Linked DNA regions of Homo sapiens: all the other regions are linked to region 1. Evidence: promoter capture Hi-C in 16 types of primary human blood cells and fetal thymus (Javierre and others, 2016). All regions are on one chromosome and are shown on one strand. The core of a region is centred on a gene start or on the middle of the fragment in contact, and the rest is flanking DNA. Distances in the headings are between cores, read along the strand shown.

Region 1 (7,465 bases), core at 3,210-5,709:
GAGTATTATTCTTAGAATAAAAGAAGAGTTTTTTTGAGAAAAAACTGTAACAGAACTCATTAGTAATATAGTTCTTTTCCTCCCCGTGGCCTCTATTGCCTCTGCTCTCAAGACTGCATTTCTATGGCTTTGCTTTTCAGTTTTTAAGGACAGGAACGACAAAAACAACGTAAAAAGAACATGTTTTCCAGCTGGGTGTGGTGGCTCATGCCTGTAATCCCAGCACTTTGGGAGGCCGAGGTGGGCGGATCACCTCAGGTCAGGAGTTCGAGACTAGCCTGGCCAACGTCGTGAAACCCTGTCTCTACTAAAAATACAAAAATCAGCCGGACATGGTGGCGGGCGCCTGCAATCCCAGCTACCCAGAAGGCTGAGGCAGGAGAATCACTTGAACCCGGGAGGTCGAGGTTGCAGTGAGCCGAGATCATGCCATTGCACTCTAGCCTGGACGACAAGAACAAAACTCTGTCTTGAAAAAAAAAAAAAAAATGAAGAAGAACATGTTTTCTTCTTAGGAAACATTTCCTAAGTACCATATGCCAGGCTTTCTGCTTGATATTGTTGATTCAAAGTTTAATAAGCCAGGTTCCATTCCACAAACAGTTCATTGTCGTTAAAGCAAGCTTGCCAATACAATGAATCTCAGGCACACGAGACACTACCTATGATGACTGATTATAACCTAGGGTCGTGTTTTCATTGCAATAATATGCAAAATTATTTCTATAAATTGTAAAGTCATTTTAAGGTTTTTTTTGTTTGTCTGTTTGCTTTTCAATGGAGAGTACATTTCCAAGTAGTGGGTATAGCCTTTTAGACTCTTCAGTATAGATTTTCTTTTACTCACTACTCAAAAATAACTTTAGTTAACATTTTAATATATATATTTTCAACTCTTTTCTTTGTGCTTTTATCTATTTTACTCACAAAAATAAGGTCATATTAATTTTGTTTTACAACTTTTTACACTAAAGAATACATTGTGAATATTATTTTATATCATTAAACATTACTAATCAGCCCTTTGTATCCATGTGTTCCACATTTGTGGATTCAAACAATTGTGGATCGAAAATTTTTTTAATTTTTTAAAAAGATGGTTCTGTCTCTACTGAATATGTACACCTTTTTCCTTGTCATTATTCCCTAAAGTATACTGTTTACATAGTATTTGCTTTGTATTAGGTATCATAAGTAATCTAGAGATGACATGAAGTATACAATGGTATGTGCTTAGGTTACATGTAAATATACGCCATTTTATATAAGGAACTTGGACATCTGTAAATTTTGGCATGCGGCAGCGGGGGTCCTGGAACCAATGCCCCATAGATACTGAGAGACACATATATTCTTCAGCATTACAAAAAAAAAAGAATGGAAATTATGAACTATTTCAATGCGTTTACCTTAACCATATAAAGCTATCTTGAACAAAATTATAAACTTTTACAAAGCCTTAAAATTTTTGGCCAGGCGCAGTGGCTCATGCCTGTAATCTCAGCACTGTGGGAGGCCAAGGCAGGCAGATCATTTGAGGTCAGGAGTTCGACGCCAGCCTGACCGACATGGTGAAACCCCGTCTCTATTAAAAATACAAAAAAATTACCTGGGCGTGGTGGCACATGCCTGTAGTCCCAGCTACTTGGGAGGCTGAGGCAGGAGAATTTCTTGAACCCGGGAGACAGAGGTTGCAGTGAGCCAAGATCACGCCACTGCACTCCAGCCGGGGAGACAGAGCGAGACTCTGTCTCAAAAAAAAAAAAAATTTTTTTTTAATGATTTATCTCATAATATGGCATTTCTACAATATGCTTATATTTTATATTTATATACAACATATATATTATATAAATATATTTATATTTTCTACTAGATAGTCTTTAAAATTGTTCACAAATGATAATAGTTATTTGATGTGACCAAAGAAATTAAGGCTCTGGACGGGTGATCTTTGCTAGATAACTAGGCATTAAATGCTACATTTCATTCTTTTTTTTTTTTTTTTTTTTTTCAGATGGAGTCTCGCTCTGTTGCCCAGGGTGGAGTTCAGTGGTGTGATCTCAGCCCACTGCAACCTCTGCCTCCTGGGTTCAAGCAATTTTCTCCAGCCTTAGCCTCCCAAGTAGCTTGAACTACAGGTGTGTGCCACCGTGTCAGGCTAATTTTTGTATTTTTAGTAGACACCGGGTTTTACCATGTTGGCCAGGCTAGTCTCAAACTCCTGACCTCAGGTGATCCACCTGTCTCAGCCTCCCAAAGTGCTGGGATTACAGGCGTGAGCCACCACGCCTAGCCTAAATGTTACATTTCAACCAATCTTCCCAAAGTGTATTTTATGGTTCTGACATAGTAAATGTATGGTTCTGACATGGTAAATAGAATATACTGAATTTTTTTTTTTGAGATGGAGTTTTGCTCATCGCTCAGGCTGGAGTGCAATGGCGTGATCTTGGCTCACTACAACCTCCACCTGCTGGGTTCAGGGGATTCTCCTGCCTCAGCCTCCCAAGTCGCTGGGATTACAGGTGCCTGCCAGCACACCCGGCTAATTATTTTGTATTTTTAGTAGAGACGGGGTTTCACCGTGTTGGCCAGGCTGGTCTTGAACTCCTGACCTCAGGTGATCTATCCGCCTTGGCCTCCCAAAGTGCTGGGATTACAGGCGTGAGCCACCGCGCCTGGCCTATACTGAATATTTTTTAAAAGAAAGAAAAGAAATGATAACAGAAACAAGTACAGTATAGCAAAGAAAGTATCTTATTAGGCAACAAAGGAACCTTAGGTGGACACTCACTCTGACAGTCAGTGTTATCTGGACTCAGCAAGTCACTTGTTTCCTATGGGCCTCATTTTCCGGATCTCTGTTAAAAATAAATAAATAAATAAGTGTTTGAATATCTGTCCTTCCTATTACAAGACTAAGAGGAGAAAATGAGATGATGTATATACTTTATCATCAGCTATTTTAAAACCATATCACATGTCTTGATACTCGCTTATAAGCTTTGAGGATTCATTGCTTATAAGTTAAAAATATTCACAAGTCATTAACTTGTTTACCTTCGGACAATTATGAGGTTGTGTATGTGTGTGTAATCGAGCAAGCATTTTACCTTAAAAGGCTTATTCGAGTAAAGATCAAGGAAAAATCTAACTTAATGCCAACGAAATAAACACATTAAGATTTAGAAATTCAGGCTGGGCGTGATGGCTCATGCCTGTAATCCTAGCACTTTGGGAGGTCGAGGCGGGCGGATCACCTGAGGTCAGGAGTTCGAGACCAGCCTGGCCAACATGGTGAAACCCCCTCTCTACTAAAAGTACAAAAATTAGCCGGGTACGGTGGCGGGCGCCTGTAATCCCAGCGACTTGGGAGGCTGAGGCAGGAGAATCGCTTGAACCCAGGAGGCAGAGACTGCAGTGAGCCGAGATCAGGCCACTGCACTCCAGCCTGGGCGACAGTGAGACTCTGTCTAAAGAAAAAAAAAAGAAGATTTGGAAATTCATTCAATAGTATTTACACACATTAAATACTTCTAAGAATGGCACATGGAAAATATCTTATTTACGTTTGTGCCCCTGGACCAAGAAGTAGAGTGCTCAGGTAACACAGGATTCCTTGAGAAAATAATTTTTAAATCAGTATGAAACCAGATTTGAGAAGAGCACAGATTAATGGAGTGGGAGGAAGGACCCTACGAGATATTAACCAAAGCACAGATATGTAATTGAGGCAGGAACTGGAAAGACACATTGGAGGCAATAACCCAAATGTCAAAACTGGAAGGAAACTTGTCACTTACTCCAAGCTCCTCATTTTACAGAAAAGGAAACGGAAATCCAGAAGGGTCAAAAAAGCTTCTCCAATGTCATACCGCTAGTTAATGGCAGTCAAGACTAGAACCCAGACGTTCTGACTCCCAGTACGGTGTTGTTTCGCCGCTAGGATATCCTTGTCAAGGAATCTGAAAAAAGTATGTTGCAAATACGTAGTTGCGTTAGGGAAAACGTCTGAATGTGAGCTGGAAGCTTTGGAACTTACCAGAAAGGTAAAAATAAATCACTGCAGAAAAATTACGGATCTGGGGTGGCTCGCCTCAAATTGGAGCCCAGAAGGCCTTGGGCCCATGGGAGGCTGGGAAGTGAGGACCTGCACCCACAGCCGCGCGCGAGGAGGGGAAGCCGGCCAGCCGCTTCCGAGAGAACAGTGCACATGCCTTCGTGAATGCCTAACGTGGGCTCACGCAGGGATTAAATGCATCTTGGAAAGGCTTCCGAACGCACAATGTTTATGAAGTTCGCGTGATTTGTGCCACTGACACGTTAGGCGAAACAACACACACCACCTGCACCGGACAACCCTGGTTAAGGGATCCTACCCACTTAACTCCTACCTACAGCCCCGGGCCCCTGGATTCTGAGCACGGGCGGAGATCACCTTCTGGACCCGGAAGAATGGTCGGTAGGTCAGTCCGTCCCCGCTACGGTCCCCGCCGGGCTTCCGGTCCCGCTGGAAAAGGTTCTTTCCGGAATTCAGAGAGTTGCTGTCGCCGCTGGGGGTGGGACTGTCTGCGGTGTCCGCGGCGGGCGTCCAGCCTGGGAGGCGCTGGTTCAACCTGTGGCTCCTCCCAGGGTCAGCCGCGCGTGGTGAATCGTTTCTGCAGGTCCCTTCCATTTCTTACTTTCCTTTCCTTTCTTTCTCTCTTTCCTTTTTTTCTTTCTGTCCCTCTCCTTTCTTTCCTTCCTTCCTTTCTTCATTTCTTCCTTCCTTTCCTCTTCCTTCCTTTCCGTTTTTCTTTCTCTTTTTTTTTTTTTTAAGAAAACTGCCTTTATTCAATTAGAAGTTGGAAAAATTAACTGGTACAGAAAAAAAGTGTAATCAGCTGGAGAAAAAGTGCCACCCATGAGAACTGATGGCTCCTCTGGGAGGGAATCTGGATACAGTGAGGATTTCTAGGAAGCAAATTACTTCTTCTCTGGGGCTATGAGAGGCCTCGGTGGTGCTTAACACTGTAGGAAACGTTAAATGGAGAATTGTGGGAGAAATGATACCTCCTTCAAAGATACGTGTTCCTAACAAGAAGGAAAAAACAAATGCAAGCGAACAGTGGCGGTAGAACCAGTTAGTATTGTGCGAACAGTACTTTCTGTTTTCTCCTAAGTCAGCTCGTGTGTATGGCATTAGGAGTAATAGAGCCAGAGTGCCTGGTTTCCTATCCCAGCTCATTCCTAGTGTGTGGTTGGGAATGTTTTGTCAACTGTCCATGTCCCAGTTTGTTCATCTACATTATAGTAATGACAGTAGCTAGTTCACAGGATTGTAATAAGGTTTTTGTTGTGTTTTTGTTTCTATTTGTTTTTGAGATGGAGTTTCGCTCTTGTTGCCCAGGCCGGAGTGCAATGGCACGATCTCAGCTCACCGCAACCTCTGCCTCCCGGGTTCAAGCGATTCTCCTGCCTCAGCCTCCCGAGTAGCTGGGATTACAGGCATGTGCCACCACTCCTGGCTAATTTTGTGTTTCTTGTAGAGACAGGGTTTTTCCATGTTGGTCAGGCTGGTCTCGAATTCCCTATTTCAGATGATCCGCCCACATCGGCCTCCCAAAGTGCTGGGATGACAGGCGTTAGCCACCTCTCCCAGACTGTTTTTTGTTTTTTTTGAGACAGTGTCACTCTGTCGCCCAAGCTGGAGCACAATGGCGCGATCTCGGCTCATTGCAACCAAACTCCGCTTCCTGGGTTCAAGTGATTCTCCCGCCTCAGCCTCCCGCGTAGCTGAGATTACAGGGGCACATCACCATGCCTCACTAATTCACCATGTTGGCCAAGCTGGTCTCGAACTCCTGACCTCAGGTGACTGCCCACCTAAGCCTCCCAAAGTGCTGGGATTACAGGCATGAGCCACCACGCCCGGCTGCAATAAGCTTTTAATGGGTTGATAAACTGTTGATAAGTAGTGCCTGGTTCATAGTATGTGTTTGCTGTTATGGTTATTACTGCCTGCCCCCAGAGCTTTCCCTCATCTTGCTTGGACATTATGACTTTCAGCTGGTCGTTTTGACCACAACCATCACCACCTCTCAAATATAAATATTGTTTTATTATCTCTGTCTTTTGGTAAAAGGAATTTGAGAAGAAAACAAAATCAATCAATTAATCTTTGTCTTTAAGATCTACCACTCCCCTGGGTAATTGGTATGGTACAGAAGTTCATTACTCAAAAGCATACTTGCCATTGAGGGAAGAGAGAGACCCTCTCATATTGTTTTATATTGTTTTATACTCAGTACCTGTTTTAAGAGAGAAAAAAGAAGTGAAATCAAAGACAGGCAGTCCGGCGCCAGGCCCAAAACCAGGCCTGGCTCTGCCTGGCCTAAACCCAGTAGTTAAAAATCAACTCAGGCTGGGCGCAGTGGCTCACGCCTGTAATCCCAGCGCTTTGGGAGGCCGAGGCGGGTGGATCACGAAGTCAGGAGATCGAGACCACCCTGGCTAACACGGTGAAACCCCGTCTCTACTAAATATATATTAAAAAAAATTAGCCGGGTGTGGTGGCGGGTGCCTGTAGTCCCAGCTACTTGGGACGTTGAGGCAGGAGAATGGCGTGAACCTGGGAGGCGGAGCTTGCAGTGAGCCGAGATGGCGCCACTGCACTCCAGCCTGGGTGACAGAGCGAGACTCCGTCTCAAAATAAATAAATAAATAAATAAATAAATAAATAAATAAATAAAATAAAAATCAACTCATAACCTAGAAACCGATGTTATTCATAGATTCCAGACATTGTATAGAACATTGTGAAACTCCCTGCCCTGTTCTGTTTGTCTCTGACCACCGGTGCATGCAGCCCCTGTCACGTACCCCTTGCTTGCTCAAATCAATCACGACACTTTCATGTGAAATCTTTAGTGTTGTGAACCCTTAAAAGGGACAGAAATTGTGCACTCAGGGAGCTCGGATTTTAAGGCAGTGGCTTGCCAATGCTCCCAGCTGAATAAAGCCCTTCCTTCTACAACTCGGTGTCTGAGAGGTTTTGTCTGCGGCTCATCCTGCTACACCATCATCTTACCTCCTAACTCATGCCCCCATCCCAACCTACCAACCTCTTTTTTTTCCCCACTTTCCCAATGCCTACTACAAAGGTGTGTAATCGGTGTTACTGAATGATTTAATGCAAACTCCTCTCCTGGACATTTTTTTTTTTTTGAGATGGAGTCTCACTCTGTCACCCAGGCTGGAGTGCAATGGCACGATCTCAGCCCACTGCAACCTCCGCCTCGCAGGTTCAAGCGATTCTCCTGCCTCAGCTTCCAGAGTAGCTGGGATTACAGGTGTCTGCCTCCATGCCCGGCTAATTTTTTTTGTATTTTTAGTACAATTGGCCTGGCCGGTTTTGAACTCCTGACCTGAAGTGATCTGCCCGCCTCAGCCTCCCAAAGTGCTATGATTCCAGGTGTGAGCC
Region 2 (7,465 bases), core at 2,301-4,800, 320 kb after region 1:
TCAAAATGGTTTATATCTCAAAGAAAATGCTTACAATAAAAAATAAAAAATTTCCAAAGAACCAAATTATTTATATCATTTATTCAGGAAGCATTTTCCTTATCTCTTGTTTAAAAAGAAAAGCATTGCGGCTAGGCGCAGTGGCTCACACCTGTAATCCCAGCACTTTAGGAGGCCAAGGCGGGGGGATCACCTCAGGTTGGGAGTTCGAGACCAGCCTGACCAACATGGAGAAATCCTGTCTCTACTAAAAATACAAAATTAGCCGGGTGTGGCAGCGCATGCCTGTAATCCCAGCTACTTGGGAGGCTGAGGCGGGAGAATCCCTTGAACCTGGGAGGCAGAGGTTGTGGTGAGCCGAGATCGCACCACTGCACTCCAGCCTGGGCAACAAGAGCGAAACTCCATCTCAGAAAAAAAAAAAAAAAAGAAAAAGAAAAGCATGGCTATAATGCGAATGTCTGCAACCATAAAAATGTATGAATTTTGTAGTTCTGTTCTAACATAAGGCACTTATCTGATTTGGGGATTTATAAGGCATACAATGGTGGGGGGTGATACATCAGAACATCCTAAGAAGTTTCTAAAATACACAAATTCTAGAAACAAATTTTAGAAACTCTGAATAATCATTTCATAGTTCAATTTAAATACATACTTTTCATCTCTTACTAATCTAATTACAAAAAATTGTCTCAAGTTAGCAAATTCAAGATTAAAAGCTGTGCATGCCAAAAGAATAAGTGCTCTTTAAGAGTTTGAATTTCATAACTTACCAATTCACGCCGTTTATCATCATCTGTAGCCTCATCTGTTAATTGTGCAAAAACTTCAGACAAAAACTTCTCATCTTCCTGCATGAGAAAAATAATTACTATGAAATATTAACAAAAGAATAAAGTTATACTCATTTATATGACTTACACAAATTATAAAAAATAGTTGACAAGTAGTATTTTCATCATGAAACCTAATATTCTGGGGTGTATTTCTGTGTTACAATTTTCTAAAATTTGACTACACCATTCAATTCTTGTTATAAATACATCAATATCTAGTTTAACTAAAAACCTCAACTACAAATAACTCTCTGGAAAACAAAAATATTTGTTCTAGAGGTGTTACGTGAAAACTCACTTAACTTAGATTCTCTAGCCCCCTTTCAGGGTCTACTTACTCTTAATTTAAACATAATTCAAACAAGCCTAAGGATCTTATTGTCAGTTTATAACAGATTAGAAAAACAAGAATTGTAAGACAAGGAACAAGGAAAACAGTAAAGGAGGCTGAATTCCGACAGTAGATAAAGTTACAAAGCTATTTAAAATACAATAACTCATAAAATACAACAACCTACAACCAACTGGTGCACAGTTTTACACGTTCTTGCGGTCCCCAAGGATATAACTAAATGACAAAGCACTACAATAACTGCTTTTCATACTAATGACTCTGGGGTATTAAAAAGAAAGACAAGTGCTAATTTCTACAGGCGTTGTCTAAAAGGACAAACAGAAAAATATAGTCAAGTGGCCAGGCGCGGTGGCTCACGCCCGTAATCCCAGCACTTTGGAAGGCCGAGGCGGGCGGATCACGAGGTCATGAGATCGAGACCACCCTGGCTAACATGGTAAAACCCTGTCTCTACTAAAAATACAAAAAAATTAGCCAGGCATGGTGGTGGGCGCCTGTAGTGGCAGCTACCTGGGAGGCTGAGGCAGGAGAATGGCGTGAACCCGGGAGGGGGAGCTTGCAGTGAGCCGAGATTGTGCCACTGTATTCCAGCCTGGACAAAAGAGCGAGACTCCATCTCAAAAAAAAAAAAAATTATATATATATAAAAAATATATATAATTATATATATATTTATATATATATTTAATATATTATATATATATAATATATATATAGTCAAGCACGCATTTTTAAAAAATAAATTTGTGGGCCAGGTGTGGTGGCTCATGCGTGTAATCCCAGCACTTTGGGAGGCTGAGGCGGGGGGATCACCTGAGGTCGGAAGTTCCAGACCAGCTTGACCAACATGGAGAAACCCCGTCTCCACTAAAAATACAAAACTAGCCAGGCATGGTGGCACATGCCTGTAATCCTAGCTACTAGGGAGGCTGAGGCAGGAGAATCGCTTGAACCTGGGAGGCGGAGGTTGCAGTGAGCCGAGATTGCGCCATTGCAGTCCAGCCTGGGCAACAAGAGTGAAACTCCGTCTCAACAACAACAAAATAATAATAATAAATAAATTTGTTTGTCTAAAGTCTAGGAGTACCGGTTAGACTGTTAACTGTGGTTACTGCTTGCTGATAGGTTATGAGTGATTTTCTTTTTTGGTTATCTATATTTTCTAATTGGTGATAGGTTATGAGTGATTTTCTTTTTGGTTATCTATATTTTCTAATTTTCTACAATAAGCACAGACTAAATTACAAAGGAAAAAATGGGCAAAAATATTAAAATTCACCTTAGAGATTTCATCAAAATCTGCTAAAAAAACTGATGGAAATTGTTGGTGGTTTTAAGCTTCAGTTATCTTCAAAATTCATTTTTATGAAATGTAATTTCCATTAATTTAAAGTAACATGTTCTAAAAAAGTTTGTAACAATAGTATCTGTAGAGTTGATAGTAAAATAAAACCCTAACATTTAAAGGATACACCCCAACTACCTGTCCTTTTTCTTACTGAGGATCATCCATTAAATGGTATCAATCCCTTAAATCCTTTTTGAAATAACGTGGAACATGTATTTTTAAAAAATGAATAGAAACCACTAGGTACAATCAGAGAGTATAACATGCTCTTCTACTAAAAATCAATTGGTGCTACTCAAAGACAAGACACTGGGAGATGAATCACTTAATTAGTCTGACTCAGAATGTGTCTGAGTCATTTAATTAGTCTGACTCAGGTGTTTCTTTTCGTATTTCATTGACTCCTTTTGGACCTTATGCACTGCAGCCTGAACATCCATCTTTTGAGGGAGTTTATATGCATATGTAATCTTTTATTTAGCCCTCAAGTTAGTTTTTCCTTTTTTTTTTTTTCTAGAGTCTCACTCTGTTGCCCAGGCTGGAGTGCAGTGGTACAAACGTGGCTCAGTGTAGCCTCGACCTCCTGGACTCAAGCAATCTTCCTCCCTCAGACTCCCATGTAACAGAGACTGCGGGCACGTGCCACCATACCTGGCTATTTTTTTTTTAATTTTTTGTACAGATGGGGGGGTTTCACTTTGTTGCCCAGGCTGGTATCGAACTCCTGGCCTCAAGCAATCCTCCCACCTCAGCCTCCCAAAGTGCTAGGACTACAGGCATGAGCCACCATGCCCAGCCTACTTTTTCCAAATACTTTTAGTCTTAATATTTTAGGTTAGGGTGAGTAAGTACATATTTACCTCCATTCACACCTTTTATAAATTTCTATTTTCCTGCATCTGTTGTAGATTACATCTTCATCCTTTACTACCTGAAAATTTAATTTTTTCAAAATATTTTCATAAGAAAAAAGTTCCAACTCCTTGATAAATGCAATTTCCCACTTGAATTCTTCTTATATGATTCGGTACTTGTGAGCTGATAAGTAGAACTGCATAAAATATTACAGATAGAGGCAATCTCAATTATTACAGTCCATTAAGAGAATATGTATTCCTAGTATTTTTTCCCTGATTTCCAGCATTACTCTGGCTATTATTCATTAAGCTATAAAAGCACTCTGTTCCAATATATTTATGAAGGAAGCAAATAATCAATAACTTAAAGCCTATCATATAGTTGAAATACTTACTCCAAAATCTCTGGTTCTCCAAGTAATCAAACTAATCTCTTTTAGTTTTTCTTTTCTATTTGGTTTTAACAGCTTTTGTTTTAATAAAACCTATATATTTAAGTCAAAACTTGTGTGGCTGCTTTTCTGGACAACATAAAAAAACACTGTGGGGAAAAAAAGAGGTTGCTTCTAAACAGTCTAAATCAAACTCTTCTCTTTGCAGTAATATAAATACAGGCCAAACAAAAGAAAAAACAGAACCCATTCATTTTTAGAAACATATAAACACAGAAATTTAGAATTAAATCAGATTTTGCAACATTACAGAGACTGTCAAGTCCAATTTTAAATTTCAAGAGACTGAGGTTCAAAAAGTGAACCTTTCTGAGGGTAGCTAGTGACAGATGGATTTAGAATCCAGGCCTCCCAAATAATTAATGAGGTTTTTGTCACTCCTACTAAGTAAACCACAAGACAGGTTTCCAAGTATTTCAAACTTCAAACGTATGAATCAAACCAAAGCAAAAGATACACAAAGCTGGAATGGGCCAAATCTAGTAAGATAAAATTTAATATATTAAATCCTGTACTTGAATCCAAAGAAAAATCCTAAAAACAAAATGAAAAGCCCTATTACTCTAAACAGTTTTTTAAAGAGTATCTGAAGATTTTACATACTTAATCTGTAACTGGGATGGGAAGTTAGAAATTTTTCTCTTTCCGTGCCAAAACCTTAGCATCTGCAAAATATGTTAAAAAGAGAACTAAACCGCTAATCCTGCTGGGCTAATTTTAAGCTTAACTCTTACCTATGGAATAGCAGAAATATGTATATAATATAATATATGTAAATGTGTTAAAATGTCAACATTTGAGATTCCTATCCTCCATCATTTCTAGTAAGGAGAGAAATTAAAACTTTGTTCTGAAAAGGATCTTATTCTATAACTGTTTGTGCAGAAATAATCTCATTTTACTTGCTTTCAAAAATTTAATTTCTGGCTGGGGGCAGTGGCTCATGCCTGTAATCCCAGCACTTTGGTAGGCTGAGGCGGGTGGATCACCTGAGGTTGGGAGTTCAAGACCAGCCTGGCCAACATGGTGAAACTGTCTATACTAAAAATACAAAAATTAGCCAGGCATGGTGGCTGCTGCCTGTAATCCCAGCTCCCAGGAGGCTGAGGCTTGAGAATCACTTTAACCTGGGAGGCAGAGGCTGCAGTGAGCCAAGATGGCGCCACTGCACTCCAGCCTGGGTGACAGAGCGAGACTCTGTCTCAAAATAAATAAATAAATAATTTCTAAAATATTTTAAAAGAATGTTGCTCAATTCTGGGCACAGGGGATTTTGATCTGCAATTAGCTAGAACATTTGGAGTCACTAAAGTCTTATGTCCCTATCATGCTTAAGATATTGTCAACATGTATTAGCACACATACTAGGAGCCACTGACTATGCTAAGTACTCTCATATAATTTCTCAGTTAATTAACCTAATTTAAGCTAGGATTTATGATAAGGACCTTCGTACTACCTCACTTCGGCCCAGTTACATAAAATTCTTACATATTCACTTGCCTTCTACAACTCACACAGCAGCAAGTTAATGCGCATTTAAGAAACCACAGGTAAGTGTACTAGATACCCAGATAGGTATCTAGAAACACCTACTACCTAACCAAAAATTTCTACATGGAAATCTCAGAGTGAGACTTTAGGAAATAAGTGCTTAGAGGCCACTGTAGGGCCAGGTGTGGTGGTTCACATCTGTAATCCCAACACTTTGGAAGGCTGGGCACTAGGATTGCTTGAGGCCAGGTAAGAACAGTTTAGGCAACATAGCAAAACCCCACCTCTACAAAAAATAAAATAAAATAGAGACCACTGGCCACAATCTTATTTCTTTCCTTTTCACACATAGTTGAAAACACAATTCATACCCAAAGGAAAAAAAAGCATTATATTAAAAAGACACCTGCACTTGTATATTGATCGCAGCACTATTCATGATAGCAAAGTCATGGAACCCACCTAAGTGTCTACCAACAGATGATCAGACAAAGAAAATGGGGTGTATATATACACTGTGGAATACAAATGAAATGTTAAAAAATAATGAAATCATGTCTTTTGTAGCAACATGAATGGAGCTGGAGGCCATTATCCTAAGTGAACTCAGAGGCAGAAAATCATATATCGCATGTTCTCACTTACAAGTGGGTACACAAGGACATTAAGATGGAAATAACAGACACTGGGAACTCCAAAAAGGGGTAGGATGGGAGAGGACTGAAGGTTTAAAAATTATCTACTGGGCACTGTGTTCAATATCACGGTGATGGGTACACTAGAAGCCCAATCTCCACCATTACTCATGCAATACCCATGTAACAAATAAGCCTATGTGCCCTCTGAATCTAAAATAAAAAAAAAAAAAAAAAAATTCAACATCATTGCTGGCACATAAGAGATAATTAAGTAGTAAATGTTATGTAAATAACAGACAGTTCACAGAATCTGGCTATTTCATGAAATGCATCTCATGAAGCAGAAATGAGTAAATCTTTTAGAAAAATAAAAAGCTGCACTTGATTTACGTAATTATAGCCTTCACAAATAAACCTATTATAAAATACATAAAATGACAAAGTTTTACAAATATTTATAGTTCATATAATTTATTTTCTGAATATAAAAAAGTATTTACGATTTACTAGTATGAATTTGGAAACCCTTCTGAAGACAAAAACAGTCATTTGAAAGCTACATATGAGCTTCTGTTCCTGGTCCTCTTTTTATCAACTACAGACTGTGACTCTGTCCAATCTCCTAAGATTATTAAATGTTTTTCTGTCAACAAGTGAAATAGCACCCTGAATTGTATACTACAGTTTAAAAATACACAGGTCCTATATATTATAAAAAGAACCTGATATGTACATCTAACCTCCCCCACACTCATTATTGGTGAATAACAAAAAATTGGTAGGTGAATAAATGACCTGAAAGAAAAGTAAATCCTATGCAAAAAATTAAAGTAAACAATAATAGGTGACTACTGGTGGGAAACGTCGCAAAATGAAGTCGATTAGCTAGGCACTAAGTCAGAGATAGAATCTCAATTATTTGTATCAGGACCCTTTTAAACTTTTTTTTTTTTTTTTTTCAGACAGTCTCGCTCTGTCACCCTGGCTGGAGTACAGTGGCACAATCTCAGCTCACTGCAACCTCCGCCTCTCGGTTCAAGCAATTCTCCCACTTCAGCTTCCTGAGTAGCTGGGATTACAGGCACGTGCCACTGTGCCTGGCTAATTTTTGTATTTTTAGTAGAGATGGAGTTTCGCCATGTTGGTCAGGCTGGTCTCAAACTCCTGACCACAAGTGATCCTCCTGGCCTTGGCCTCCCAAAGTGCTGGGATTACAGGCATGAGCCACCACACCCAGCCTAAACTCTTAAGAATTATGCAGAGGCTGGGTACAGTGGCTCATATCTATAATCTCAGCACTTTGGGAGGGTGAGGAGCATCACTTGAGGCCAGGAGTTTGAGACCAGCCTGGGCAACACAGTGAGATCCTGTCTCTATATAAAAAATAAAATAAATTTTTAAAAATTACAATTAAAACCAAGACTCGTGAAAATATTTATGAATTCATTTTAAAATAAGTCATTTTATGTTTATGTAAATATT
Region 3 (7,465 bases), core at 4,019-6,518, 300 kb after region 1:
ATAGGGGCGAAGCCAGCCATGGCCCTGGGAGCCTACCTGTTGTATCAGCATGCCCTGGATGTGAAACATGGAGTCAAAGGAGATTATTTTGGAGCTTTAAGATTTAAAGACTGCCCTGCTGGGCTTTGCACTTGCCCAGGGCCTGTAGCCCCTTTGTTTTGGCCAATTTCTTCCATTTGGAATGGGAGCATTTACCCAATGTCTGTACCCCCGTTGTATCTTGGAGGTAACTAACTTGTTTTTTATTTTATAGGATCACAGGCAGAAGGGATTTACTTTGTCTCATATGAGACTTTGGACTTGGACTTTTGAGTTAATGCTGGAATGAGTTATGGGGGACTGTTGGGAAGGCATGATTGGTTTTGAAATGTAAAAAGGACATGAAATTAGGGAGGGACCGGGGTGGAATGATATGGTTTGGCTCTTGTCCCCACCCAAATCTCATTGTGAATTGTAATCCCCAGGTGTTGGAGGAGATGACTGAATCATGGAGGCAGAAAACCCCCTTGCTATTTTTGTGATAGTGAGTTCTCACGAGATCTGGTTGTTTCAAAGTGTGTGGCACCTCGGCCGGGCTTGGTGGCTCATGCCTGTAATCCCAGCACTTTGGGAGGCCAAAGTGGGTGAATCATCTGAGACCAGGAGTTCAAGACCAGCCTGGCCAACATGGTGAAACCCCATCTCTATTAAAAATATAAAAATTAGCTGGGTGTGGTGGTACATGCCTGTAATCCCAACTACTTGAGAGGCTGAGGCAGGAGAATTGCTTGAGCCCAGGAGGCAGAGGTTGCAGTGAGCCGAGATCACGCCACTGCACTCCAGCCTGGGCAATGAGAAGGAGACTCCATCTCAAAAAGCAAACAAACAAACAAAAGTGCATGGCACCTCCTCCTTCACACTCTCTGTCTCCCGCTCCACCATGGTTAAGATATGCTTGCTTTCCTTTCGCCTTCGACCATGACTGTAAGGTTCTCGAAGCCTTTCAGCCATGTTTCCTGTTAAGCCTACAGAACTGTGAGTTAATCAAACCTCTTTTCTTCATAAACTACCCAGTCTTAGGTAGTTCTTTTTAACAGTATAAAACGAACTAATACAAGTGGTAAGTCTTTATTAGCTAGAATCTTAGAAATCTCAGTATTAGAAAGGACCTTACGGATCATAACAAAATTAGCCATTCTATGCTAGAACTCTACATTGTGGTATCTAGCACATACATCTAAAATCTCATTAGCTGTCTGACTCTTCCTTTTATTGTCTCCCTGTAGCTTCCACTCACTGACTCTACACTTCTTTACTCATGGTAAAAACCTAGTAATTTCTCTCACAAGTCAATATTCCAAATGCCTAAAGACAATGATCAAGTCCGTAAGTCCTAAATATTCCAGGTTCCTTTTTCTGTTTGTGTTATGACATAGGTGTCCAATCCCTTTTAACATCTGGTTATTATTTTTATATATGATTCTTAACAGCATCTCACTCAACACTGGATACAGAACTTCAAATATGGCTGTACTGCCTCTTTTGACAATAGTCAGGGCAGTACCTGTAATGAGTAAAGGCAGAAGAATTTGTCTAGCAAAGGTACCGATTTCTTAGGATATTTTAATAAGCTTTTTGCTCCGCCACGCTGAGGCAAATAAAACTTATCAAACTAATGAGTTGAAAATGAGTACGAACAATAGTTTCAAAGAAAATGTAATAAATGAAATTAATTTTCTGAGAATTGTCTTTAGAAAATGTCACATTCAAAATCACAAACTTACATAATAAATCCAAGAAAGGCTTTTATCTTCTAAGACATAAATTTTTTCTTTTGTTTTTGAGATAAGGTCTTTCTCTGTTATTAAGCTGGAGTGCAGCGGCAGCTCATGGCTCACTGCAGCTTCGACCTCCTGGGCTCAAGTGATCCTCCAGCCTCAGCCTTCCTAGTAGCTGGGACTCCAGGTAAGTGCCACTGTGCCCATTTAATTTTTGTGTTTTTTTGTAGAGACAGGGTTTTACCATGTTACCCAGGGTGGTTTGGAACTCCTGGGCTCAAATGATCCACCTGCCTCAGTCTCCCAAAGTGCTGGGATTACAGACGTGAGCCGCCATGCCCAGCAAGGTATAAATTTTAATTAAATATTTAAATGATATACTCAGGGCAGTATTCCAAAAAATGGTAATTCCTCAGGCCACAGAAGTAAAATGGTTAGTTCTTTTGAAAGATATATTACTAGCAAGATCTTCATTTTATAAAACAAGTTAAGCACATCTGAAAGCCAGGGGAAGTTTTACTTTTTCACTTCTCTTGTTAGTATATCTTTATGTAACTTTTGTAATTTTAAAATTTCAAAGAGCAAAGTTACTTGTTTGAGCTCAGTTTATCAGCTGTAAAAGACACAGGCAAAGTACTCTAGAAGGTTTCTATGAAGCTATATGGTCTCTGTTATTACTGAGAATTTCAGTATAGAAATAAAGCCAAGACTATTCACAGAAAGAAAAGTATAAGTAGATAATTCAATTTCTAACTAGCAAATTAACAGCATTACAAAATAGCAAGTTTGAAGAGAAACATTTTAAACATGAAAAGAATTCCCAGACAGATTTGGAAAAAGTACATAATTTTAAAAGAACACAGTTTGGTATAAAATTTTTGTCTTTCTTGCTTTGTAAACTATAAACAAACCTTCACAAAGCAACAAAATAATTTCTGCACTAAATAAGAGGGTACACTGTGCAAAAATTCCGAATTTTAATACCTTTTTTAGTCTCCATAAACTTTTCATAATTATCTGGAAAATCATCTTCTGGCTTAGGTTTTTCCACTGGTGCCACAACTGCTTTTCCTTCCTCTTCTTCATCTTCATTAAACCACATTTCTTCATCCTCTTCCAAGGCTTTTGCATCTCTGCGAAATCTGTTACTACGCAATATAGATGGTACACTGTAAGAAATATATCACAAATATTGAGTAATGATTTAAAGTTCATCATCAGATTGAACTGAAGGAAAAATATGTATAACCAAGATGAACTGAAGTAATTTTAACTGACTATAATTTATATCAAAATAATCTCTGTAATGATAGAAGATGTAGCCAGAGAACACTCCAAAATATTTTAGGATGTTGTAAATTAAACTAAATATTCTTCGTAAGTTACAACATGGAGTAGTAATTCAACATATAAATGATATGGGGTAGGGGGGACGCCTTACCCTCCTATTCAACTCTATGCTATCCAGTGATGGAAAGAAAATTCCTCAGTAAATTTCACATGGAAAATCTGAACTACAAACAATTTTGGACACAGTTTTGTAGGCTATAAAAGCAGTATACTTAAACAATACCTGTTCAGTTTCTGATTTTGTCTGTCTTTTTCTTGCTCATATTTAGTCTTCAATCCTTTGAATGTCTGAACATATTCAATCGATTCAAGTGCTTTATAAAAGTTTTCAACTATATGGGCAGTAAGAGACTTGATATCTTCCTGTATAAGCACAAAATTTACATTTAAAATATAATACAATGCTTGTTAGAAGAAAAACTTTAAAATTTTGTTTTGTAGTTCTAAAGCTGATCAAAAAAGGTTTTTCAAAATCACCTTCCAAAATGTAATGTCCTGGTTTCTTTACACATGAGTCAGGACTGCACAGAAAACTTGAAAAAAAAGGAGAAGCAATTTACTGGAGTCCTTTTATAGGACTATAAAGAGCATTCGAAAAGTAAATAGATTTATTTTACATCTTCTATTTTTTGTATATATATATATATATATAGCAGTTTACAATTTAAAAAGCACTTTTACATAAAATTTCATTTGATCTTCACAACAATTCTATGAGATAGGTTTTATTATTCCCATTTTAGAGAAAAACCAAAATTGAGGCTCTAAGAGAGGCTGGATGGTTTGATCCAGAGCACACGGCTGGTTAGAGGGCAGATGTTAAAATTACATTTTCAAAATACTCACGGTGATGGATACCCCAAATACCCGGACTTGATCATTACACATTCTATGCATGTAAAAAATAAATACATGTACCAAATACATCTGTATAATATTATGTATTAATAAAAGAAAAACATATTTTTCAACAAACAGGTCTTATTTAATGACTTCCTGTTTAACTGCTATCAAAATGGGATATGGTTGTGGTGGTTTTCTTTCTGGTACATTTGTTAAGTTTTCAAATGAGCCTAACTCTGCCACATATATCATATAGGAGCTGGCAAAGGCTTGATGACAAAGAGATCTCTCTCAAGCCTTTCCCACATCAGAGGCTGGCTTTCACACACACAGAAGAAGAAAAAACAACAGAGGACACGTGTTACCTAAATAATAAGAAGCAAAGACTTCTCTGACTATATTATACACACAGATCTGATAAACTATCTGGAATTCTACTTGTCTATTCCTATAGTCTTCCAATAGTATAATATCTGTGAAATAAACTAATTGATAGTAATAACTTCTAAATTCTAAACCATCACTGCAAATGCATGCATGCCCAGTAGGCTTATTTTAAAAAAAAAAATTAAAGTTGTGATTGAGGACTTTACAGATAACACTACATAGTAAGAAACACACAGGTCATTTCTTGAAAAGATACACCATAATTTGGTTGCATTATGGATTTTAAGTCTTAAAACTAGTTCTCCTGTACTTCTCAATTGAAAAAAAATACGCAAATCAGAAATTAGAAACCTAGGTAATGGCTCTATGTTATATGTGAAACGAAAAAATACATTAAGTTTTGGGGCACAAGGTACACAAATCGACCACTCGAACTTATTTTCACAAAAACAATTCCATCATGGGCATAGGGACAGGGTTGTAAACTCTACCATTTGCTTTATCTGTATCTCACCAAAATTTTAAAGGAGAATAATATAAAGTAAATAAAATATAAAGCTTTGATTTATTGCAGCAGTACAATGGGAACTAGTGAGCTAGTTAACCATGTTCCTTCTTTTACCAGGTTAAAGACTTCTATCCTCTTCATCCTTTTAAAAATCATATACTTGGCAATTGACCACTTTTAGAAAAACAATCCAGTCAGCCAAATAATCTTCATATGAGAATAGCATGTTATCAGCAAAAATCTGACTTGTAAGAAATAAAACTAGATAATGAATTTCTAGCTTGGACTTTGATTTTTCAAATTATTTCCAGCCAGGTGCAGTGGCTCACACCTGTAATCCAACACTTTGGGAGGCTGAGGTGGGAGAACTGGTTGAGCCTAGGCGTTTGAGACCAGCCTGGGCAACAAAGGGAGACCCCATACATAAAAAAAAATTACCATTAGCCAGGCACTTTAGTGCATGCCTGTAGTTCCAATTACTCAGGAGGCTGACGTGGGAGGATCTGCTTGAGCCCAGGAGGTCGAGGCTGCAGTGAACTGTGATTACATTATTGTACTCCAGCTTGGGCAACAGCATGAGACCTTGTCTCAAACAAAACAAAACAAAAAATAAAACCCAAATTCTTTCCAACTATGTGGCCATTTCCTCAGTGGAATGATTTCGGTGTGTTTAAGTACAGGTGAAGTAAATTTGTTGTACTGGTTCTACAGTTATCTGTTGCATTCCTGTTATTCACATAGACTGCCCTCCAGATTGTTTATGACAAATCTTCTGTTGCCTAAAACTAAGCTGGGACAAAGCTTCAAGTTCTGACTGGTCCTGATTGTGCTACTATCCAAAAGGATGTTCTTGAATAGGTCACTTAATAACTTTGGGTGTCTTAATTTCCTGATCTATAAAATACGGTAATTGGAGTAGTCCATCTAACTTCCTGATCTCTTTAACTTAAAATTCTAGGATTCCATCCTACCTTTTATGCATGTTGTATTAATGTCTACCAAATGATTTTTTTTTTTGAGACAAGAGTCTTGCTCTGTCACCCAGGCTGGAATGAAGTGATGCAATCTTGGCTCACTGCAACCCCACCTCCTGGATGCAAGTGGTTCTTGTGCCTCAGCTTCCCAAGTGGCTGGGACTACAGGCGTGTGCCATCACACTCAGCTAATTTCTGTATTTTTAGTAGAGATGGGGTTTCATCATGTTGGCCAGGCTGGTCACGAACTCCTGACCTTAAGTGATCAGCCTGCCCAGGTCTCCCAAAGTGCTGGGATTACAGACGTAAGCCACCACGCCCAACCCCAAGTGAATTATTTTTCCATCTTTCTATTCTTTTTAAATCATTACCTCTACAATAAAAATATCACCTTTTCCTAAAAGATCACGTGAATAAGGCATGATTGACTGAAATGTCCACATACACCAAATGAGATCATGAAACATTTGGCCAATAAAAATGGAACTGAGAAAATCAAGTAAATATGGGCTGAAAGACTATGCTGAATTTCACTTTTATATTTCACAATTAAAAATATTAGCGTTAAAAAATATCAGTGTCAAAAGTAAAAACCACTAAACTATAACCATGTGGCAAATAAGAATTAAAAAGCTACTGATTTTTAAAATTTCTGTTTATTAGAATAGATTCTAAGACACATGGAATATATAATTTCAGGGGTGAAAAGGGAATGAAGTCACTTTGCTTACATGTAATTCTTTTACATAAAAAATTATTTACATATAATTACATATAATAACAGCTGTTTTATATAAACTTACCACTCTTATAAATTCAAACAACTCAATAACAGCTGAATTCAACAGATTATACCGAGTTCCATTATCCAGAAGTGCATTTATAACTGGCTCAAAAAGATTTCCCTTGGTGATGTAACGATTATAAAATTCATCTTTAAGTCCAATTATCCGCCTCATAAAGCGAAGGGCACCTAATTAAAAATAATATAGGGAATAAGTTAATGATCTTACTAAAATCAATTATTATACAGGTGTTTTTCCACCATAAAGCAATGTATATGCTCTTCTAAAATGAAAAGTAAAACTGTGTATAAAGTAAAAAGTAAACTCCTCTAAAATGAAAAGTAAAACTGTCTGGTAAAACTGGACTTTGAGGAAAATAGAGCTGCAGAGGATCGCTCAAAACCTGTACAACTTTGTAGCCAGAACTAACAACAACAACAACAACAAAAACAGTAATTGGAATCTAGGAGATAAACTACCCAGGCAGGTAGCTCTGTGACAGAGATTTAAAAATATGCAAAATCCATAGACTGCAAATGCTAGCAGTATTTACAGCAGTGCTGGTGGATGCTGAGACAACGCAGTGAAGGCAGCTCAGAATCAGTGGGGGCACTGTCATTAAGGTGGGCACAGGAGTGGGCAACCCACCATGAGCTAAGATTGCCTTGCCTCTCTGAGGGAGGGAGCTTTAGAGGCAAAAGCTTGTTTTCAGTTTTCTGAAAATACAGCTAAAGTGTGGGCAGCAAGCCACCCAGGTGCCGAGGCAAGAGACTGAGGGCACGAGCTGTTCTAGTATAATAAAATATATAAAATAAGAATAGTTATACTAGATATAGATCTTAGATATGATTATATATGAAT
Region 4 (7,465 bases), core at 1,849-4,348, 260 kb before region 1:
TTCTTCTTCCTTCCTATTTCAGGCCAAATTCAAGCCTATCTACTTTAAATCTGGGCACAACTACAGTCATCCTAACTGGTGTGGCTATAGGTTATTCTCCCCCAGTTGATCTTATGCAGCACCCTAAACCAACTGCTATCATTTACCATTCCCTACTTTAAAACTTCCAAATCCTTTTTATTTCTTTTACAATCAAATCCAAAACTCAATGTCTTCTGCGGTCTGGCCCAGGGTATCTCTTCCATAAAACCAGAGAACCTCTCAACTGGAACCCTGGGCAGCACGCAAATGAGGAAATTAAAACCAAAAAGGTAAGTTTCTTATTCTAGCCAAAATCAAAATATACCAGAACCAAGGCTTAAACCCTAGATCACTGTTTCCCGAATTTGCCCAACAATATGAATTACACCAGGATGCTTAATATGCAGATTGCCAGGCCCTACAAAATCTGATTTGGTAGGTCACGACCCAAGGAATCTGCATTTTTAAGAAGCACTAGATGATTCTCATCTACAGAGAAGTATGAGGAAACCTAATCTAGTTCATCTAAATTTTCTACATTCCTTGACCACACCAATCTTATCTTTCAACTCCTGTCCTAAATATTCTGTTCTACCCAGAAAGTTATTTACTGTCTCAACTATAGCTTTTTAGTGGTTATATCATTCTCCTACCCCATCCAAATCCCTAGGCCTACCCATTCCTTCCTATTTTAAGCTCCTAAAAATCTTTTGACTACCTTAATCAAAATTTTCCATATAACCCCAGTAATCGAATACTATGTAAATGTCATTTGTCATAAGTATCCTAAACAGAAAATATGAAGAATATATAAAAGAATGCAAATTATTAATGCTTTCAGCCTGAAAGATCGAGTATCTTAAATACCAGTTAATCGGCAAGCAAACACACACACACACACACACACACACACACACACCACCTTTTAAAGAACACTGAAATCAGAGCATCTCTCAAATCTGTCACTATGCTATACTGGTGGTCAGGGGGAGAATGCAGTAGAAAAATGCCTAAGTATATTTTTTAAATTTACCTAGACCCTAGATTAGGCTCCTTCTCTGCTGTCAAACTATTTTTTTTTTAGATGAGGAAAAACTCATTCCATGACAGCTTCCAACTTCTCAGTGATTTCCAACTTAAACCTTACTCTGTAATCTTAAATATTACTCTGTAATAATAAAATTGTCTGCTGATAGAGAAAATACTAAAATATAATTTAACCACTGACTCAGAAAAACAGGCAAAGTTAATCTTACCGACCAAAACAGCCAGACAGGTACTAAAAAATATTAGGCCATTCCACTTACAAAGTGAGGCTCCCCAGAGATATTCAGGAGTAAATTCAATTTTACATTTGAGTACCTAAAAATAATCAAACAAATCTCTGGAAAAAATATGAACTACATTGGAACTTAATTTCTCCTGTCTCATAATACCTTTAAATTACTTCAACAAATAAAGAACTTAAGATGTTATTTAATGATTTAAGACTTAAGTTATTAATAAAGAACCTTAATAGTTGCAGAATGAGCCCTGATACGACTTTTCACCTACTTTTAAGGCCTGTATTTATTGTATTATTATCATTTGTATCATTTTCACTTAGCAAAAGCTACCATATATCAATTCATCAATCTGTAACGTCAACGGCTAACAGGATGAAGAAATAAAAATCCTTCTCTTTAAATTCACATGTAAAGAAATCCTAAAGGCAAAACCCAAAGCTGTATTGTTTTCTATTATTTTTTAAGTTGCAACCATAAAATCTTACCAATGTCTCAATATGGTCTCAATCTTAAATTCACCTTTTCCCCACATCTTTATTGAACAAATTTTTAAAAAGACATTGTAAAAGTTACTGTAATTAGCTCTACATACTTTTAGAAATATTGTTGCCAATCCTGCTAGAAGGAAATAATTTTTTTTAATTATAAAACTTGAATGTAGCCAGGAAAAAAATTGCTTACGTAGAATGTCTATTTTGGACTACTTAAAAATAGCTCTAATAATTTAAAGGTAATTTATTATAAGTGGTCAGATATACAGCCTACCACTTTCTTTTAAAGAAAAAAAGGTAGATTTAACCATCTACATAATAAAATATTCTTTAAATATTCTAGTCAACATTTTACCATTTACAGGCTTAAATTCTTACACAATGATCCACTGAGATTTGAAAGGATCTGGGCTTTCAAGGGGGAGGAAAAGGGATCAAAATCACTGATTGGTTATTACAAGGACAAAGGTTAGTGACTTAAATATAGACATGCATTTAAAATTACTGCGTAATTATACTGTGTAATTTGAATGATTTCAAGATGCACATAATCTGATTAAAAGAAAGTTGGTAATAATTTTAAAGGTTCAAATCAGATTTTCAAAGAAGAGGCTTACTGCAAACACAATATCTTGCTACCTACAAACCTTTGCACAGAATTTCAACTACACCAAGTAAGGTTTTTTAAAATAGTCACGGAAAATATGTCACTGTGAAACACAAAAACAGCAATGTGTATTTACCACATCCAAGTGACGAACAAATGAAATCTGTTAGATCTATATTGTTTACAATGTGCAAGATTAGAGAACAGAACCTAAACGGCAGGACTGAAAAGACTAAACCGAATGCCAGTGAAACAGAACAGCATGACATTTTCTGGTATACAACCAAATGTAAAAACACGTGAGATAGCCGTTTTAATCCTTTAGACTTCAACTCTTCAGAGGTTTCACTTTCAATCCAAAATATCTAAATTCCAAAGCTTATTCATAGAAATATATTAGTGGTCACATATAAAAACTGAATAAGAAATTAAAAAGCAGATATACCCTTGTCCTTCCAATTTTTCTTCTGACCGTCCATCTCTTGTCACGATCTGCTTTGCAGCTCCAATTATTAATTATGCATACCAACAGAAAAGCTGTAACTGCACAAACCTACTCCCTGAGACATGAAATACCCGTTTCCTCAACCGAAGTCTGCAGTCTCCTCTGCTGCACAACTGCAGCAGGACTGAAGTCACCTGACGTCTTCTGGGTGTGGAACAGTCTGACGCAGTGCAATCTGTAACTAGGCTACTAATACTCCAGCATTAATGCTTTCCTTCTATCTGTTGATTGTTTTAGGCATTTGCCTTGTTGCTCATACCAAATGGAGCTGCATTTGCAGGGAGAGGGCAGGCTACCAAAAGAAAGGAAATAAGGGTTGTTCTTAGAACTAACCACTGAATGTATCTGAAATGCAATTAAAGCCATATGCAGTTTTTTTTTCTTTCTTTTTTTAACAGATGGTCGAATTATGCTACTGGTTTTCAGTTTCATTTAAAACTCTAAAATTAATGGTTACCTAATAAGATAAAAATGGACTGATCAAATATTAATAGCCTAAATTTCAAGCTTGTGAAATGATGAGTCTCCTTAATTGCTCCTAAGTTCATTAAGACGTAAAACATTCAGCATTTTGCACCTTATGAAGAGATAAACAGAAAATAAAAGTCAAATTACTAATGTTTATTGAACATATTATTTGAACAGAAAACTTTAGCAACTTAATCTTCCTAATATCTTTTTTCCTCTTTTACAATTATGGAAATCCAGAGACTTACAAACATACACTTACTCTTAATCATCATCTGCTCCAACTCAATCTTTGAATATTTATTAGACACCTCTACAGACAGTATTAATAGATTCTTAGCTTGGGGAGATATATTCATGGGCTAATGATATAATCTGCCATGGGAAAATGACATAAAAGCAAACTATAATTTTATTTTATTTTTTATTTTTTTCTGACACAGGGTCTCGCTCTGTCACCAAGGCTGGAGTGCAGTGGTGCAATCATTGGTCACATGGCAACCTCAACCTCCCAGGCTCAAGAGATCCTCCCATCTCAGTCACCACAGGCATGTGCCACCATGCCCAGTTAATTTTTTATTTTTACACTTTTTTTAGAGATGAGGTCTCCCTGTGTTGTCCAAGCTGGTCACAAACTCCTGGGCTCAAGCAATTCTCCCACCTCAGCCTCCTAAAGTGCGGGGATTACAGGTATGAGCCACCACACCTGGCCTAAAATTTTACTGAAAAATATAAAAACAAATCTATGTACAGCATTTTTAAAATCTGTGTTCAACTTTATAAAACTGATTTTCATTCCAATGCAGTGTCTCTACTTATGTTCCACAATCAATTCACCTGATACTTATATCTGCCTAAGCAGAAAAGGCACTAACAAATCAGCTAAAATATTTTAAAATGCAATTTGCGAAAATACTATAAGATACGTAGCCTATGTACAAAAATACATACTTAAGACTGTATAGCTAAAATGAAATAGAGATAATATTTTCTGGAACCTGCTATCTGTGGGCTGCAAAATCCTTAATATCAGAAGTGGCTTGATATTAATATATACTCCTATTATGTACCCAAAAAAACTAAAAACAAAACATGTAAGACTTAAACATAGAAAGAACTAAAATTAGGAAAATGAGAGGGGAAAAAGGAAGTGGCTTGAATATCAATGACACATTTATTTCCCTATCTGCCTCTCTAACTCCAAACATAAATAAAGAAAAGTAATTTTTAAAAGAGCCCAGTATTCTCAGCTCGAGTTAATATTTAACTTTAAACTTTATTCACTGAACCCCTGCATAATGTGATATTTGAGAACCCGGTCAGCAAGCCATATCATGGCCTGAAAATGTCTGGCCTCTCCACGCAACATTCAGAATCTCAAACTATTTAGTAAATACAAAATACTGACTTTCTAATAACAAGTCCCTTAAAACTGAAAGCCAATAAATAACGAGCATTAGAATAAAACACTCAACTATAGTACTCAAACACTATTTTCAAGTCAGAGATTACTTCACTAGTAGAAGAAAAAAGTTTTACTGTGATCAAGTTACTCGGCACTTAAGACTACTTGTATCTTCCGTGGTACTTGATTTGGCTTAACAATTAAAGAAAAAAGTCTGAGAGGGGCAAGAATGTGTAATAAGACATACCCACTCATCTAAACATTAAACATACTTAATAGCACCCCTGACAGATTAAAAAGTCAAAATAGGAGCCCTGAAGTTTAGTAAACATTTCAGCCTACATAGTGACATCTACTTCTTTAATTTTTATGGTCTTTGTAAGTGTACAAGGAAAACTAGCTTGTGGAAATCAACTGACATTTTGCCCAGTTCTTTCTCACAAAGTTTTTCAACTAGACTTGTTTTAAGTTTGGCAAGTTAAGCAAAAAAGTGCTTAAATCTGAAAAACTGATATGACACAAATTTGTTAAAGATGTAAAGCCAGATGGGCTATGTTTATTATGAAAATCATATAATCTCTACTAAAAATAGAAGGCTTTAGGACATTGCCTGACAAAAAGTAGGCACTATGTAAGTGCTATTTACTTATCAGTATGCTAAAAATAACAATCAAACTAAGAAGCAACAAGACAAGTAAGGCACATCTAAGAAAGCTCATATATTAAGTCCTTCAACTCTAGGCAATAACCCAATCTTTCTAAACAGAATTGCCCCCTCTCATACACAAACTATTGTCGTTGCTGTATAGTTCTATTATTTTCCAGCTGAGAAAAATGTACATCTGCATAGTTTATAGGTCCTATTCCACAATGAACCCCAACTTAACAAGTCAAATAAAGAAAGGACATAAATCTGTTAAAAACTTATCTTCATTTATTTTGTTTTCCTTCAACTACCTAACTTTTAAAAAAATTAATTCTTTTGAGGACAATTTTCAAGTAGAGCACATGTCTCAACTTGCAGAATGGCATTTTGACTATTTGAGACAGGAACCTCTTTTCCCATAAAAGCAAAGGCTCACAAAGGAGAGGCCACAGAAAACTCCTTTATTTATACTGCAAGCCAATAAAAGTGTTGTATGAATTCTAAGCCCTATTTCATATTGTGTGTTTGTGGAGGGGAGAAGAGGGGAAAAGTATTCTCCTTTTCCTGAACTCAAAATCAGCTTTATACAGAACTTTTGAAATAAACTGTTCAAAGTTCATATTTGGCAATTTCCCACTCCTCAATGTCCATGTCCCCAGTATCCCCTTCTCCCAAGCATGACAAAAAAATCAAAGATGAAAACTTGCCCAAATACATATCCATAATGTCTTTCCTTTGCATCTTATGAAGGGATAAGCTCTAAAGGGTAATATGCTGTAAAATTACCTACACGGTTTCTTTTCTCACATCTCAGACCAAACCCTCGTTTCCTTCATGCACTTACCTGTTAAGTAGGAAATACGCATAAATCAATTCCTACTAAACAAGAAACTCTTTTATGACCTCAGAAACTGTGTGTATGTTTTTTGGTGGGTTTTTTTTTGGGGGGGGGGGAGGGTGTAGGGGGGGTGGTATCTAACTGGCAAGATTTCAGACAGTAGAAAGTTATATTTTAGATTTTAGAACAGGCAGCACTAGGCAAGGTGTTAAGTCCACCCCAGCCAGCTCTTATTCTAAGACATTCTTCCTTTTCCATTTCTTTCTTTCCTCTACTTCTGCACCCAGGAAAAACTCAGGTTTTTGTTTTGCTTCGTTTTTCTTTACAACATTTAGAGATGCAAGGGAAAGAGGGTGGGAAAGCAGCAATCATTTGGATTGAAAATGCTACTCTGAAAGTTAGAGACTGCTTATGTACACTGCTCTTGAGAGCTAAAATAATTTATACTTTCCAGCCACAGAAAATAGGCATGTTTTTTAAAAAATAAGAAACAATTATAGCTACACAGTAGTTTTAAGCTTATTTCAAAATTTAACTATTCTGAGCTACACAAAGGTATGAAATTAACATGTTTCAATACTGAAAGGAGTTAATTTTTAAAACCCTACCATATGCTGTAATATAATGCCCTCTATGGACTAAATTACAGCACTTCAACATTACTGAATTAAATCTTAAGAACTGGAAAAAGATTTTAGTCTAGAAAATGAATGACAGTACAAGTTAAAATAGCAAAACAACGAGCATTTTAAAGTCTATAAAAAATTTAACATAAGGTACCAAAAATGAATACTAAAATTCATAAACTGAAAGTGACACTATTTATGAAAACTAATATGCTAACTTCTTACATTATAATCTAAAACATACAAATATTCTTAAACACCCAAAGCATTTTTAAAAATTTTTTATATAAAAATATGAAACACTTCACAAATTCTATGCGTCATTCTTGTGCAGGGGCTATGCTAATCTTCTCTGTATAATTCCAATTTTAGTATGTGCTGCTGAAGCAAGCATTTTTTTTTTTTTGGAGACAGAGTCTCGCTCTGTCACCAGGCTGGAATGCAGTGGCACGATCTTGGCTCACTGCAACCTCCACCTCCCGGGTTCAAGTGATTCTCCTGCCTAGCCTCCCAAGTGGCTGGGACTACAGGTGCGTGCCACCAAGCCCAGCTAATTTTTGTATTTTTAGTAG

Evidence for each region. Contacts are between HindIII fragments. The CHiCAGO score rates a contact against its expected background, and 5 or more counts as called.
Region 2: a fragment that was not itself captured here is called in contact with the fragment with the promoter of MTIF2 in region 1 in 2 of 17 cell types (monocytes and erythroblasts); the score reaches 5.9 in monocytes.
Region 3: a contact is called between a fragment that was not itself captured here and the fragment with the promoter of MTIF2 in region 1, in 2 of 17 cell types (monocytes and M1 macrophages). The highest score is 5.5, in monocytes.
Region 4: a contact is called between a fragment that was not itself captured here and the fragment with the promoter of MTIF2 in region 1, in 4 of 17 cell types (total CD8 T cells, total CD4 T cells, activated CD4 T cells and 1 more). The highest score is 5.7, in total CD8 T cells.

What each region holds. Positions count from the first base shown.
Region 1 is chr2:55,264,772-55,272,236 of GRCh38, forward strand. It overlaps MTIF2 (mitochondrial translational initiation factor 2), which reads right to left and starts at 4,460. Exons shown (of 16, transcript NM_002453.3): 1 at 4,398-4,460; 2 at 3,807-3,968; 3 at 2,798-2,864. RefSeq lists enhancers at 4,403-4,552, 4,498-5,321. The HindIII fragment of the contact is 1,895 bases long and covers 4,031-5,925 here.
Region 2 is chr2:55,588,103-55,595,567 of GRCh38, forward strand. PPP4R3B (protein phosphatase 4 regulatory subunit 3B) reads right to left here. Exons shown (of 17, transcript NM_001122964.3): 5 at 777-854. Among named protein-coding and RNA genes, the nearest start is that of PPP4R3B, 26 kb to the right of the region's middle. The HindIII fragment of the contact is 2,041 bases long and covers 2,531-4,571 here.
Region 3 is chr2:55,561,572-55,569,036 of GRCh38, forward strand. It overlaps PPP4R3B (protein phosphatase 4 regulatory subunit 3B), which reads right to left. Exons shown (of 17, transcript NM_001122964.3): 13 at 6,623-6,792; 14 at 3,331-3,470; 15 at 2,742-2,926. It overlaps LOC124900537 (small nucleolar RNA SNORA12), which reads left to right and starts at 4,132; the gene lies at 4,132-4,279. RefSeq lists an enhancer at 5,453-5,953. The HindIII fragment of the contact is 751 bases long and covers 4,894-5,644 here.
Region 4 is chr2:55,007,237-55,014,701 of GRCh38, forward strand. The region is part of intron 3 of RTN4 (reticulon 4); the gene reads right to left. It also overlaps the pseudogene RNU6-433P. Among named protein-coding and RNA genes, the nearest start is that of RTN4, 39 kb to the right of the region's middle. RefSeq lists a silencer at 3,843-3,902. The HindIII fragment of the contact is 634 bases long and covers 2,782-3,415 here.